Regions from separate parts of the Homo sapiens genome. Here region 2 is linked to region 1. Evidence: promoter capture Hi-C in human tissues and cell types (Jung and others, 2019). All regions are on one chromosome and are shown on one strand. The core of a region is centred on a gene start or on the middle of the fragment in contact, and the rest is flanking DNA. Distances in the headings are between cores, read along the strand shown. Region 1 holds the start of DUSP26 (dual specificity phosphatase 26). Region 2 overlaps LOC105379364 (a long non-coding RNA gene).

What was found. Contacts are between HindIII fragments. The study calls those that stand out against the background at their distance.
Region 2: a contact is called between a fragment that was not itself captured here and the fragment with the promoter of DUSP26 in region 1, in 2 of the 25 tissues and cell types used here (mesendoderm cells and thymus).

Annotation. Positions count from the first base shown.
Region 1 is chr8:33,597,442-33,604,942 of GRCh38, reverse strand. It overlaps DUSP26 (dual specificity phosphatase 26), which reads left to right and starts at 4,920. Exons shown (of 4, transcript NM_024025.3): 1 at 4,920-5,278; 2 at 7,352-7,501. The coding sequence starts at 7,428. RefSeq lists an enhancer at 6,754-7,254. The HindIII fragment of the contact is 23,069 bases long and covers 1-7,501 here.
Region 2 is chr8:33,735,947-33,743,447 of GRCh38, reverse strand. All of the region lies in intron 1 of LOC105379364 (a long non-coding RNA gene), which reads right to left. Among named protein-coding and RNA genes, the nearest start is that of DUSP26, 140 kb to the right of the region's middle. The HindIII fragment of the contact is 7,961 bases long and covers 310-7,501 here.

The DNA.
Region 1 (7,501 bases), core at 3,671-6,170:
CATTCTGTGCCCCTCGTCCCCCTCACCTTATTTATTCCATCACCAAATAAAGTCACAGCTGTCGGTCCTCTGCTATCTGAAGCATTAAGTGAAAGTGCTGTTTCACCCAGCAGCAGATTTCAGGGTGCACCAGCCCAGGAGGGATGGGCATGGCGGTATCTGGTGTGTGGTTGGGAGGAAGCGCTATCCTCTACTTAGGAGGAAGAATTACAGAGCAGCAGGGAGCTTCTCCAGAGATTGAAGAGGCTGCTGGTCCCAACCTTCTGTACGCATCGCACCTCGCAGATCCTGCCACGGGGAGCCACATCCCCGAAGGGACAAAGCCAGGAGAGTCGCTTGAGAATGATTCATGCCATTTCTGTTAAATGCCTGGCACGCAGCAGGACTTGATACATTTTAACAACTACTCTTCTATTTTCTTTAAGTCTACTACAGTGGTTTGAGGCACAGGCTTTGGTTTAAAATAGTTCTAGGTTGAAATCCATGCTCAAATTCTACTCATTAGCTCTCTGGCCTCAGAGCGGATTTACCACCAGCACTCTAAACCTGTTTCCTCAACAGTAAAATTGAATTAATTAAATCTATTTATGGGATTGAATTCGCTAATGTATGTAAAGCCCAGCCCATAATTAAATGGTAGCAGTTAGAATTGACCTTTAACATATGCCATATTTTGATGGTCATTCTTGTTTTTTCTTTTTTCCCACATTCTATTTTTGAACACCTCCCTGTCTGTATATTTATTTAATCATTTCTTTCAGAACTATTTTGAAATCTATTTTTGTCTTTTTTTTTTTTTTGAGTCACCCAGGCTGGAGTGCAGTGGCACAATCATGACTCACGGCAGCCTCAAACTCCTGGGCTCCAGCGATCTTCCCACCTCACCCTCCTGAGTAGCTAGGACTACAGGTGCTTGCCACCATGGCCAGCTAATTCTTTATTTTTTGTAGAGTCATGGTCTCACTATGTTCCCTAGGCTGGTCTCCAACTCCTGGCTTCATGAAATCCTCCCACCTCGGTCCGCCAAAGTGTTGGGATTACAGGCATACGAGCTGCAGTTCCTGGCCCTATCTTTATCTTTCCATAGCCTTATTTTTCCATCTCTAATCTCTTCATCCCAGCATAGTGTATCCATTCGTGCTTCTAGTACGGGCAATATGAATTTAAATAAGTGTATAAATAAGTGAAACAAATATAGCTCATAGGTCCTTTGATGGAAGTGTATATGAGCACAAAGAAGGAAACGGACAAATAAGAGTGGATCCAGGCTGGGCACAGTGGCTCATGCCTGTAATCCCAGCACTTTGGGAGGCCGAGGCAGGCAGATCACTTGAGGTCAGGAGTTTGAGACCAGCTTGGCCAAGATGGCGAAATCCTGTCTCTACTAAAAATACAAAATTTAGCCAGGCACGGTGGCACACTCTTATATCCCAGCTACTTGGGAGGCTGATGCAGGAGAACTGCTTGAATCCGAGAGGTGGAGGTTGCAGTGAGCTGAGACTGAGCCACTGCACTCCAGCCTGGGTGACAGAGCAAGACTTCATCTCAAAAAACAAACAAAAAAAAGAGTGGATCCAGGCCGGGCACGGTGGCTCACACCTATAATCCCAGCACTTTGGGAGGCTGAGGCAAGTAGATCATGAGGTCAGGAGCCCGAGACCAACCTGGCCAACTTGGTGAAACCCCGTCTCTACTAAAAATACAAAAAGTTAGCTGGGCATGGTGGTGCATGCCTATAATTCCAGCTACTCAGGAGGATGAGGCAGGAGAATTGCTTGAACCCAGGAGGCAGAGGTTGCAGTGAGCTGAGATCATGCCACTGCACTCCAGCCTGGGCAACAGAGCAAGACTTGGTCTCGAAAAAAAAAAAGAGTGAATCCAAAAAGGCTTTACAGAGGAAACGATTCTCCAGCCTAGTCTTGAAACACTGAAGTTTCAAATAAGATAGCCCTGGGTTTGAACCTGTGTCCTGCCACACACTAGATGTGGATGAGTTAACTAATCTGACCAAATGTCAGTCTCTCTCAGGTATTCAATCAGAATGATGACACCAATTTAATATATGGGTGAGATAAAATGAGCTGATTGGCAGGGCATGGTGGCTCTGGCCTATAATCCCAGCACTTTGGGAGGCTGAGGCGGGCAGACCACCTGAGGTCAGGAGCTTGAGACCAGCCTGGCCAACATGGTGAAACCTAATCTCTACAAAAAATACAAAAATTAGCCAGGTGTGGTGGCATGCACTTGTCATCCCAGCTACTCAGGAGGCGACACACAAGAATTGCTTGAACTGGGGAGGCAGCAGTTGCAGTGAGCCAAGATCACACCACTGCACTCCAGCCTAGGAGACAGAGCAAGACTCTGTCTTAAAAAAAAAAAAAAGAAAAAAAAATCGCCAGGCATTGTGGCATGCACCTGTATAGTCCCAGCTACTTAGGAGGCTGAGGCAAGAGGATCGTTTAAAAGAGGATGGTTTAAGCCCAGGAGGTTGAGGCTGCAGTGAGCTATGATTTTACCACTGCACTCCAGCCTGAGACCCTGCCTCAAAAAAAAATCAAAAAAACAAACAAAAAAACAAAACAAAACAAAACAAAAGAAATCAAGTGGGCTATAGATCGACTCATGAAAATGATCCTCACGGATATGTCAGTCCCCAGGTAATTTCTATAATTACCCATAAACAGCTGTACACATTGTCTGTGGTGTACTTTAAACTGTATTTTCCCCGCTTTTTGAAAAAAGTGTAATGCAGGGTTGAAACAGAGGTCTTGTCAAAGATTGAGATCAGCTTTACCTACAACATCCTCTCAACCTACCAATCTTGAAGACTTTTCACTTAAAATGACATTGATCTTCACCTGAGGTCGGGAGTTCGAGACCAGCTTGGCCAACATGGAGAAACCCTGTCTCTACTAAAAAATACCAAATTAGCCAGGCATGGTGGCACATGCCTGTAATCCCAGCTACTTGAGAGGCTGAGGCAGGAGAATCGCTTGAACCCGGGAGGTGGAGGTTGCGGTGAGCTGACATTGCACCATTGCACTCCAGCCTGGGCAAAAAGAGCAAAACTCCGTCTCAAACAAACAAACAAAAAAAAGATATTGATCTTGTAAGTGCTCTTTCACAATTCCTTTTATGATAATGTTTTAACTAGGTTTGCAAATTAAATCCAAATTTTAATTTGGATGCGCAAATTAAAATCTCAAATTTCTCAGGTCAATTCCTTGGGGTTTTTTGTTGTTTGTTTGATTGTTTATTTTCGCTTTTGTTTGTTTGTTGAGAGGGAGCCTCGCTCTGTCGCTCAGGCTGGAGTGCAGTGGCATGATCTCAGCTCATTACAACCTCCACCTTCCATGTTCAAGTGATTCTCCCACCTCAGCTTCCCAAGTAGCTGGGACTACAGGCGCCTGCCACCACACCCGGCTAATTTTTGTTTTTTAGTAGAGATGGGGTTTCACCATGTTGGCCAGGCTGGTCTCGAACTCCTGACCTCAGGTGATCTGCCCACCCTGGCCTCCCAAAGTGCTGGGATTACAGGTGTGAGCCACCATGCCCTGCCTCTTTGTTTTAAATGACAAGGATTTCATTTCATATTTAAACTGCTGTAACACAAGGGACAAGGAAAAGTGAAAAGAATTTTGTTTCTCTAGAGAAAAAAAAAGGCTAGGCGGTACATTAAACTTGGATGGCAGCCTGTCATGGAACCTGGGGATTGGTCACATTGGCCAGTACTTTCTCTAACCCAGAGATCAAAACCTGATCTGCCACCACTGCTGGGAATGGAGTCAGTCCTGGTTTCAGCTATAGCTGACACCATCAGCTTCAATCTGAGCCAATCTACTTTCTGCCTTTCTTCTAGTAGACAGCGAGAGTTCAAGCCAGCCTAGTTCTCAACAGCATCATCTGCTAACATTTATCATCTCCCCCACTTCCCTCTCACACAATAAGGTAGGCACTGGGGAAGGTAGCACAGTCCCTGCCTTCAAAGTGCTTACAATCTTGGTGCTTACAATAAAAATGCCGATCAAGTGAATATGTCACTAGAAGGCAGCACATGAGAAATTAATATGAAGATGGCCGGACACAGTGGCTCATGCCTGTAATCTGAGCACTTTGAGAGAAGGTGGGTGGATCACCTGAGGTCAGGAGTTCAAGACCAGCCTGGTCAACATGGTGAAACCCCATCTGTACTAAAAAACAAACAAACAAAGAAAAAATATATACAAAAAATTAGCCAGGCATGGAGGCGGGCGCCTGTAATCCCAGCTACTTGGGAAGCTGAGGCAGGAGAATGGCTTGAACCTGGGAGGCGGGTTACAATGAGCCAAGATTGCGCCACTGCACTCCAGCCTGGGCGACAGAGTGGGACTGCATCTCAAAAAAGAAAGAAAGAAATATGAAGATGAATGTTTTGAGAGTCTGGGGAAAGTGAAGTTCACTATGAGCTGAGCTGGTGGAAATGGCTTCCTGAATGAAGGAAATCCATGGTGCCTTCTCCATTTTGTGGGAGGCACTGGTTTAGAGAGTGGTTAAGGACATAAACTGCAAAGCCAGGCTGCATTGTTTGAACAAGCTCAGCTCTGCCAGTAACGAGCTGTGTGACCAGGGCAGAGTACCTAGCCTCTCTGTGCCTAGGTCGCCTCCTCCCTAAAATTAGGACAATAGTAATTATGTCTCCCTCATAGACTTGTGGGGAGTATAAAATGCCTTAAGCTAAATGAAGCACATGGCATATAATGAAGGCTAATGGGGGCTTCGGACCATTGTTCTTTATGACACGGTTTCTTGAGACCGAGGCATGTACAAGCCAGTGCACAGAATCGTGTCTATGTAATTAGTTAATTCTGTCTGGGAGGAGTGTGTGTGTTTAAGACAGTGCCTGGGATGACTTATAATGTAATCTTTAGGCAAAACGCTTTGTAATTGGTGCAGCTCTGAGAACACACGCATGCATTCCAGGCGGTGCTGCTGGGGCTCGGCGGGGCCGTGTCTGGTCTGCAAGGCGCGCGGGCTCGTGGGGGGTTGGCTGGGGAGCCCACGCTGCCTGGCGACTCGGGCCACCGAATGTGAGACCGAGTCCCTTTATGTCACCAGCGCACACGCTGATTTGAACCCTGCTTCGACGTGTGTGTCATGGCTTAAAAATAGCTGCTAATCTGTCAACCTGTCTTGGGCAGAAACAGCGGCGGCGACAGCAGCAGGAGCGTCATGGCCGTGGCGCTGTCTGCGCCGGCGATCCGCCTTTCGGACTGAGGCCCAGCGCAGCGCTTGCAAAGAGGTAGAGGGGCTGCGGCGGGCCTTCGCCTTTTCAGCTGGCTCTCCACGCTGGGGAGAGGCGCCCAGCTAGGGGCGACGGGGGAGGGAGGGGACCGGGAAGCGGGCACCCGAGCCCAGCGAGCCAGCCTCTCTCTCCCGGGCGCCCTCCCTCCGCGCGCGGGGCCCGGCTGCCAGGCTGGCGAGGACTGGGGCGACAGCCATGGACCTGTTACAAAGGCGACCGCAGGCGGAGGGAGGGAGCGGCGGGCCAGGGCCCCTGGAGCCGACGGATGGGATTGGAGAATGCCCAGGGCTGTATCCCTGGACAGAAAGGGGCTTCTGCATCCCCCGGGAAAAACAGCCCCACGGAGATCCTTCTTAGACCTGGGCTCCTTCACGCTTCCCCCATCCCATTCATCATCTCGTAGACAGCAGACTCTCTAAGAGGAAAGGTTGTATTGCAATACAGTAATGGGGTCTTTAGGCCTGGGTGCAAAGGTAGAAGAAGATGATGGTGATAGTGATGGTGGTGATGGTGGTAGTGATGATGGTGATGGTGGTGGTGATGATGGCTGTAGTGCTATATTTCTGTGCTCCTTCCGGACCCAGCCATTGAAAACTCTCTCTCCCTAAACTCCCTAACATCCAATCTTCCCTCACCAATCCTGGTCCTAAAACCCCTGCTTCTAATGCCTTGTAAGTGCTTGGTTTCTCTTGGCACTGGAGCAAGGGAGAGCTGGGCCCTGTCTAGGGGTGTGAGATGGGGACAGAGCATGGGCAGGGACAAAGATGGCCTCTCACTGCTGGTCATAGAGTTGAAGTCCCCCTGGCAGGAGGCCAGGAAGGGAGTGGAAGGGGATTCTGCAGGCTCCAGGACCTCCTGCTTTCAAACAGGCAGGACCACAGGTGTGAGAGGATGGGGAGGGAGGGGGAAGGGGCCTTGCCATTGTTGCCTCCCTGCCTGAAGGTCCCAGGGCAAGCCTCAAACGCTGGTCCTTCCCAGCTCTGCAGCTCAACAGGTAATCTGAGACACACCTGCTAAGCCCCTCGTTATTGACCTCGTGTTTTGTAGGGTCACTTGACTCCAACAGCCATACGGTTGGTAATTCTAAGCCTCTGAGCCCCTGGACCTGGCAGGATCCCTCATTTTTCCCTTTCCTTCCTGCTTTCTAGGCCCCCACCACCCACCCCTGTCCCCCCTCCCCTCAAGACACACACAGACAAAACACTCCAACCCTGCGTCAATTCCCCCACCATCCACCTCTGTCACCCTCCCCTCAAGACACACACAGACAAAACACTCCAACCCTGCTTAGATTCAGAAATTCTCACATTAGAGCTGAGATCTGATCAGTAATTTCCTAATGCTGATCCAAGGAGGGTGGTTTGCCTGTTGTGCACATAGATTGGTGCCTTCTTCCATAAGCTCATGCATTCAGCAAGTATTTATTTTTTGCAAACTTACTCTTCCTCTTTATTGCTATTCTCCACTCACCCCATCCCACCCCCACCACACCCTTCCCATAGCAGGTTTATCTCTGAGGCAGTGGCAGGTCACGAAGGGGTTAAAGTCTAACTCTGGCACAGAGATGGCAGGCCTGACATGTGTCATGGCCTCAGCTGCTGTTGTCTCCCTGCTAATTCTCTTTGGATGGGTCTAAAGGTACCCCCAACCCCATCCCAGCTCCCTAGGCTCTCTGCCGATAGCCCCAGGCAGATGAGACTCAGATTCCAGCTGGCAAGATCCCCAGCAGTGGGGACAACCACCCAAGTGCCGTGTGTGTGTGTGTGTGTGTGTGTGTGTATGCGTGCTGGCAGTGGGGGTGGGGTGATGAAGCTGAAACCTAGCAGCTGGGCAGCTCCCTCTCCCCGTAAACAAGGACATGTGACTCTCCCACCTCGTTTCGTGGCAGAGCCAAAGAGCTGAGCAAAAGGAGCTGCTGCAGCTTGAAGAAAAAGCCACCCCTGAAGGCTCCTGCCAGAGCCAGGCTTACCTTCTCTCCCTCGAGAATCTTCTCCCGAAGGACCAGCCCAGGGAAGGGAAGCAGCTGCTCTGGACTCACTCAAGTGTGTCTCACACCCCTTCCTCTTCCAGCAGCAGCTACCTGGCAACTGAACCCATCATCACCACAGCCACTCCTGCAGCTGCCACGGTTTCTGCCACCTCTAAGATGTGCCCTGGTAACTGGCTTTGGGCTTCTATGACTTTTATGGCCCGCTTCTCCCGGAGTAGCTCAAGGTCTCC
Region 2 (7,501 bases), core at 3,041-5,540, 140 kb before region 1:
AGGAACAGCAGGATCCCAAGGGCATGCAACAGTCCTAAGCACCACTGCAGAGAAGCCCACGCAGAATATGAAACATCCCAAGAAATGAGGATCCCAGATAAGACTTTTGGTTCACATTAGCACCCAAAACAAATATTTTGCTGTAGGCTTTATTAATAACACCGTCACCTCAGGGTTGGAGGTCTGCCCTTTATTCATCTGAGGAGGACTCTGACTTCTCCAGTGTATGTAATAGAATCCTTTTGCAGCTACAGCTCTGCCCCAGTGCTCTCTGTTAGAGGTGAAATGAGGAGAAACATGGGCAGAATCCAAGTTTTAGAGAAATATAAGATCACAGAAGTAACATTTTTAATTGCTCTTAGTGTGAAAAGAATGAAAAGATTTCCTAAAGCAGACATTTGACCACCCTATACCCACCATACTCACGTTTTCCTCATCTTTATCCATAAAACCATGCACAACAAACATGTGCACATATACTCACATGCACACACTCTACTGCCTCAATATTGTCGCTCTTGAAGATGCATATCTACCTTCTCAAAAATGTATGCATCAGGGTGGGGCTTGGTAGCTCATACCTGTAATCCCAGTGATTTGGGAAGCAGAGGTGGGACGATTGCTTGAGCCCTGGAGTTGGAGAGCAGCCTGGGCACCATAACAATACCCCAATCTCTACAAAAAGAAATTCTTTTTTAATTATCCACGTGTAGTGGCATGCCCCTGTAGTCCCAACTACTGGGGAGGCTGAAGCAGAAGGATCCCTTGAGCTCAGAAGGTTGAGGCTGCAATGAGCTATGATCTCACCACTGCAATGCAGCCTGGGCAACAGAGTAAGACCCTGTCTCAAAAAAAAAAAAAATTATGTATCAGATTCCATTGTGTATTTCAGAAAAATCCATATGAAAGGACAACCTCTGCTCCCTCATCCACTGTTGTTATTAGGTCAATGTGAGAATAAAGAGTGGACCTGGAAATAATAGGATAAAATAGCCCTGACCCAGCCAGTTTAACCATGAAACCTCTGCTCACTAGAATCTCTGCCAGGCAGATGATATAAGGATTTGTTAGTCAATGACAAAGAGGGCATCCACATGCACAGTTCTAATATGATCAACTGAACCCTAGCACTCCTATATCTGGAATAGGTAGTGAATGAGCTAAACTAGTGGAAATTTTTTAGAAAGAAAACTGAAATTCTGTACATAAAGGGTTCCAAGTATTTATCATTCATATTAGATCTTTTTCCAAGACTCCAAAGATAAAATAGCTTAGAGTCAAAGAGAGTATATTAAACTTCATGTTAGCCCGAGGCCCTCCTTCTTCCTTTGTTTATCATTTATTTATACCTGTCCTCATTTTGAAAAAGAATTTGTTGCTGAGTAGGAAAGTGTACACAGAACCAGCCAACCCTGTGTCACATGATGTTTGAGAGTAAATTATCTGCCTGTCTCTGGTTTTTTAAGCTAACTTTAGAGCACACTGCAGACCTTCACAGCAGTGAGCAAGACAGATTGGAAGTCTCATTTTTGCACCAATCTCTTCTTTAAATTCTTGGATCTGCAAGATCTTAGAGACTCCTTCTGCCAGGATTTGGTGCCTCTAATTCCCACAGGGTTTTATTCCTGAGTTTTCTTTCTCCTTTCAGCTCTCAGCATCTCATGATTCTTCAGCTACAAAGTTCCACTCAACTCTAACTCCACATATCCCAACTCCTAGCAGAGTACCTTGACGTGTGCTCCTTCTGAGCCAACTGTACTTGCCCAGGCCAAAACTGGGTGTGTTGGCATCAAAAAAAAGAAACTTCCAGGCTCAATTGGACACACCTCCAACATTCAACCACTCCCTCTCTCTTGGACTTTGACCCTGGTTCAGCTCTGTGCCCCTGCCACCAGCCACCCAAATCTCATGTCAAACTGTAATCCCCATGTGTTGGAGGAGGGGCCCGGTGAGAGGTGATTGAATCATGGGGGCAGACATCTCCCTTGCCGTTCTTGTGATAATGAGTGAGTTCTCATGAGATCTAGTTGTTTAAAAGTGTGTAGCACTTCCCCATCCTTCTCTCTCTCCTGCCACATGGTAAGATATGCCTACTTCCCCTTCACCTTCCACCATGATTGTAAGTTTCCTGAGACCTCCCCAGCCATGCTTCCCGTGCAGCCTGTAGAACTGTGAGTCCATTAAACCTTTTTTCTTTATAAATGACCCAGTCTCAGGTAGTTCTTCACAGCAATATGAAACGAACTAATACACTGACTTAGACTTTAGTTTCCTTTTCTGAAAAATGGGGATTACATCTACTCTGCCTACACCTGTGAGTTTGTTGTATTAATCAAATATAATGAAATGATGAATGTGAATGTACTTTAAAATCTTAAAATAAAAGATAGATGTAAATTAATAATTCCAAAACTTGGACTTTATTTTTGGAATTTTTAATTTGTAACATTGTATAATAGAAAAAAACTTCTCTGTCAGAAAAAAAAAATGTTTTGTCATTAATTTGCTGTGTGATTTTTTATAAGTTCTTTGACTTCTCTGAACTTCAGTGTCTTCAGCTGAGGCCTTAATTAGTACTCCTTTCTTTGAAAGTAACAGAAGTCCTCTTTAAATTGAGGAAAATAGGCCGGGCACAGTGGCTCACGTCTGTAATCCCAGCACTTTGGGAGGCTGAGGCATCACTGGAGGTCAGGAGTTCGAGACCAGTCTGGCCAACATGGTGAAACCCTCTCTCTACTAAAAATACAAATATTAGCCGGGAGTGGTGGCACAAATTTGTAATCCCAGCTACTTGGGAGGCTGAGGCAGGAGAATCACTGGAACCTGGAAGGCAGAGGCTGCAGTAAGCCAAGATTGCTCCACTGAACTCCAGCCGGGGCGATAGAGTGAGACTATGTCTCAAAATAAATAAATAAATCGAAGAAAATGAGGTGAGACGTAAGAGGACATCGGGCTATTTTACAGAACCCAAGGACAGGAAGTGCAGTCCAGCCTGATGAGCAAAGAGGACCTGGAAATACAATATCCTTAGGAACCCAGGCAACCTGATACTTCATATTCTTGAGACCTTGATACGGTGTGGAAGTTTGTCCCCTCCAAATCTCATGTTGAAATGTGGTCTCTAATGTTGGAAGTGGCGTCTGGGGGAGGTGTTTGGATCATGGGTACAGATCCCTCATCAGTGGCTTAGCACCATCTCCTTGGTGATGAGTGATTTCTCACTCTGAGTTCACACAAGATCTGATTGTTTAAAAGTGTGTGGGAACACCCCCTTCTCTCTCTTGCTCCTTCTTGCCAGGTGACATGCCTGCTCCCGCTTTGGCTTAGCCATGAGTAGAAGCTCCCTGGGGCCTCCCCAGAAGCCAAGCAGATGCGGTGCCATGCTTCCTGTACAGCCAGCAGAACTGTGAGCCAATTAAATCTCTTTCCTTTATAAATTACCCAGCCTCAGGTATTTCTTTATGGCAATGCCAGAACAGCCTAATGCAGACCTCATTGGTTATCATGTATGTGTCTTTTTATGAGCTAGATTTCTTAACATCTCCATGTATGTGGCATAAAATAGCTGTCACCATTCCAATTAATTGGAATCCATTTGTACTGTCCTGGGAAAGAACAGCTGACTGGCCCAACATGGGTCCAGGGTCTCAGCTGGAGAATAGTATCATAGCGAAACATGGCCTCTGGGGCCTGCCACTATGAACGAGAAGCAATTTTCACAGGCAAAGGGCATGGGTTTAACAAAAATCTGAAATGTGTTATAGTGAATACTAGGCCCCATCATACAACTCCCTGTTCAGAAATGAATGACTCATTTCCTCTGATTCTGTGGGTGCTCCCTACAGACAACCCTCAGCTGACATCACTCTCTGGCAATTGTCCTTGAAGAAAAAGAGCCACCTGACTTTGTCCAAGGTCACATCCCTTCCCAGAGACAGCACACCTCCAATGACTACCTGAAGCTTGGGCCCCTCTCCCACTCTGAGAGGAAAAGCAATCCCAACTCCAGTGATGGCTGCAATCTTTGTAGTAACGACACTGCAGCCAACTTCTTCCTCTATCAATGCCTGCTTCCTTCCCTTTCCCCACGGGTATTAAACCCTCAGACACTCCCTAATAAACCTCCCACCTTCCAGTCTCCATTTCAGGCCTGCTTCCTGGAGAATCCAGCCTGCAACATGTGTGCGTGGCATATGTGACTCAGAGATGCAATCTTAGGGTGATAACGCCTGTCACACAATGCATTCAACTCAAAGGTGTTCAATGAATATTAGTTTCTTTTCCTCCTGTCAGCTTGCCCAGAGGACAATTTCACAGAAAAGAAAGTCACTAAAGTCTCCGGGATCAGAGCCCTTTTCTGTATGACTCTCTGATTTAAGGCTAGAAATTACAATTACAGGATCAATTTCCTTCTATCAGATAGCAAGAGCCAAGCAGAGCATCAGCAGCTGGGCCAAAATGAGGGCACTCATTGCTATCTGATGGAATTCTTGAAGAGCCTAATTCCTGAAGCCAAAATGAGGCAAAGGAGACTTTGCCTGTCAGTAACATTGGGCCCTGCTCCTCCCGCCGTTTACATTATCCCACCAGGCCTCGAGAGCAGGGACCGACTGAGATCATCACACACAGTGTTTGGAAGGTTAATCAGCAAGAATGCATCAAATGCCCACTCTGTGCCAGACTCACATATTAGGTAGATAGATGAGGTTAGGCTTTATAAAAATGTAGGCACTCTGTGGCACCTGCCTGGGATCCCAACTATTCAGGAGGTTGGGGCAGGAGGATCACTAGAGCCCAGGAGTCCAAGGCTGCAGTGAGCTGTAATCACATCACTGCACTCCAGCCTGGGTGACAGAGTGAGACCAAGACTTTAAATGTATATATAATCAGCAAGATAAGACACAGTGAGGATAGATAAGTGTCCAAAATTGGAACAAACCACAAATAGAGGCATTTAGAAAAGGACAACATCTTGTCTTACTGAGGATATAAGGGAACGGTTCATGGAGAGATACCATCTGGGACTTGAAGAATAGAATGGATTAATGGATTTAGAGCTTTTGATAGCCAGAGAAGATAAAGAGGCATTGCTGAAACAGAGAGTTACGCCTATAGAAAGGGACAATGTCAGGGCCTCCAGGTTGTTCAATTCCATGTGCTGGAAACTCCTGGAGCACAATATAGAATAAGGGCCCTGGAGTGGTTCAGGCTGCAGCCCAGGACAAAGTATGTTTGAGGAAGAGTGAATGGTTTGAAGTGTTGCCGATTTAAATAGTCAGGTGGTCCTCAGGCTCTGACGGGAGGCTGGTGAGAAGAGATGCCTTAGGCCCCTAGACCTCACTTGGTTCTCATTTAGGAAGGACAGTGTAGCCTGGCACCAGAATTTGAGTTCTGCCATCCAGAACCAGATTAGGCCAGATCATTTTCTTTAAGCATTTCAGAAAGAAAATAAATAGAGAAAGTATAGTTGTCCTCTAGACCTTCAAGAATTCAAAGATCAAAGCCAGAGATGACTTGTTAAGAAGACTAGATAAATGCTTTGAGCAAAACAGTGGCCAAGCACTGAGCTAAGTGTTTTATATAACAAGATTAATATTTACGACAACCTATGAGGTAGCTGCTGAACTCTTACCTTTTACATACGGGAAAATCAAGGCACAGGAATGTCAGGTAAGCCTCCCATGATCAAAGAGCTAGTAAGAAATGGAGCCAGAGCTCAAACTTATATGGCCATCTCCAGGGTCTGTGCTGAAAGCCTCTTCATTTTATACCATTATTGTTCCACCTTCAAGGTGAGAGCACTGTAGCATAAGGCTTAAAATAAGGCCTTATATTATGTGTTGCCTTAACATCTGATGAAATTCTGTTTCTGAGATGAGGTCTCATTATGTTGCCCAGATTGGTCTTGAACTCCTGGACTTAAGCAATCCTCCCACTTCAGTGTCCCAAGTAGCTGAGATTACAAGCACACATAAAATTCTTGTATGGTAAAATTCTTGAATGGCCTAACTACAAGTTCCCCTCCCAATTATGCTCCTATGAATGAGACCCCCTGGTCCAACAATGCTCCTTATTATAGGAACCAGTCACAGTTCACGCCTATCCCAGACTAGCAAGTTTCTGTTCTCTGCAAGCCCACCAAATTCTTTAAACAAGCCAATCACTTCCTCTGGTAGGAACCAGCAGGCACCCCTCCCTCTTGATACTACAAAGCCCTCCTCCCTCCGCCCTCATTTGTTCACTCTGCTCTTGAGGGCAAGCACTGGGGCCCTGCCTGGCACAGTGTCCCTTCCCCAAGGCTATGATTATATGTGGCTGGTAAATTGCTGTCATTCCATTGCCCAGTCCTGGGTGTCATGTGCTGGGCCATCCTCCTGGGGACAGGAATTCCCCTCCACCCTCCACAACTGGATGAATAGGAGACTAAAGCAAGCCAAGCCAGAAATGAGAAGGAACATCAAGTGGAGAGTAGCCAATGAGATGCCGTAATGGAATGTGGGAAAAGAACAAGGGTGAAAACAAACAGAGAAGACCAAAATAATGACCACACATGACTTAGAAGAGAGACAGAGTGCATACAAGAAGTTCCATCAACTTTTTGAAGCAGGAATAAAGAAAAACATTCAAATGAGGCAGGAATGAGCAATTGACGATCATAACTGTGATTATAAGGCATAATTACAATTAGCTGCACAAGAGTGTTAATCATGAAAATAATTACATGTCAGCTTTCCTCCTAAAGAAGAGAGAATGTAATTAAGTGGCCCAAAGGGGGCAAAGAAAACACATCTCTGGGTGTTACAGGTAAGGGGTGAAGGGCTGATGTTTTCAGTGGTAAAACTCTCTCAGTGCTTTAAATGAATCAACCAATTTCTGCTACAAAAAAAAACAAGGAAGGAGATAAGAACAAACTGGTTTGAGATTTTTCTTGCTAAAAAAGCAAACCAAAACTTGAGGTCTGAGGTAGAACAGTGTGGTAATTAAAAGCCAGACAGCCTAGGAGGCCAAGGCAGGTGGATCACCTGAGGTCAGGAGTTCGAGACTAGCCTGGCCAATATGGAGAAACCCTGTCTCTACTAAAAATACAAAAACTAGCTGGGCGTGGTGGTGCACAACTGTAATCCCAGCTATTCAGGAGGCTGAGGCACAAGAATCGCTTGAGCCTGGGAGGCAGAGGTTGAAGTGAGCCGAGATCGCGTCATCATACTCTAGCCTGGGCTACGGAGTGAGACTCTGTCTCAAAAAAAAAAAAAGCCAGACAGGCCTCAATTCAACTTTATTTTGCTAGTTACCAGCTCCATGATACTAGACAAGTCATTTAACCTCTCTCTAAGCCTCAGTTTCCTCAATAGTAAAATAATAATTATAATGCCTCTCTGAGTTGTTGTGAGAAAATAAAGCTTGTAAGACATTTATGTCAGTGCCTTACACAGAGTAAGTTCTAATAAGGGTCATTATACAATAAAGAAAGGAAGAAAGGAAAGATAGAAGAGAGAAAAAG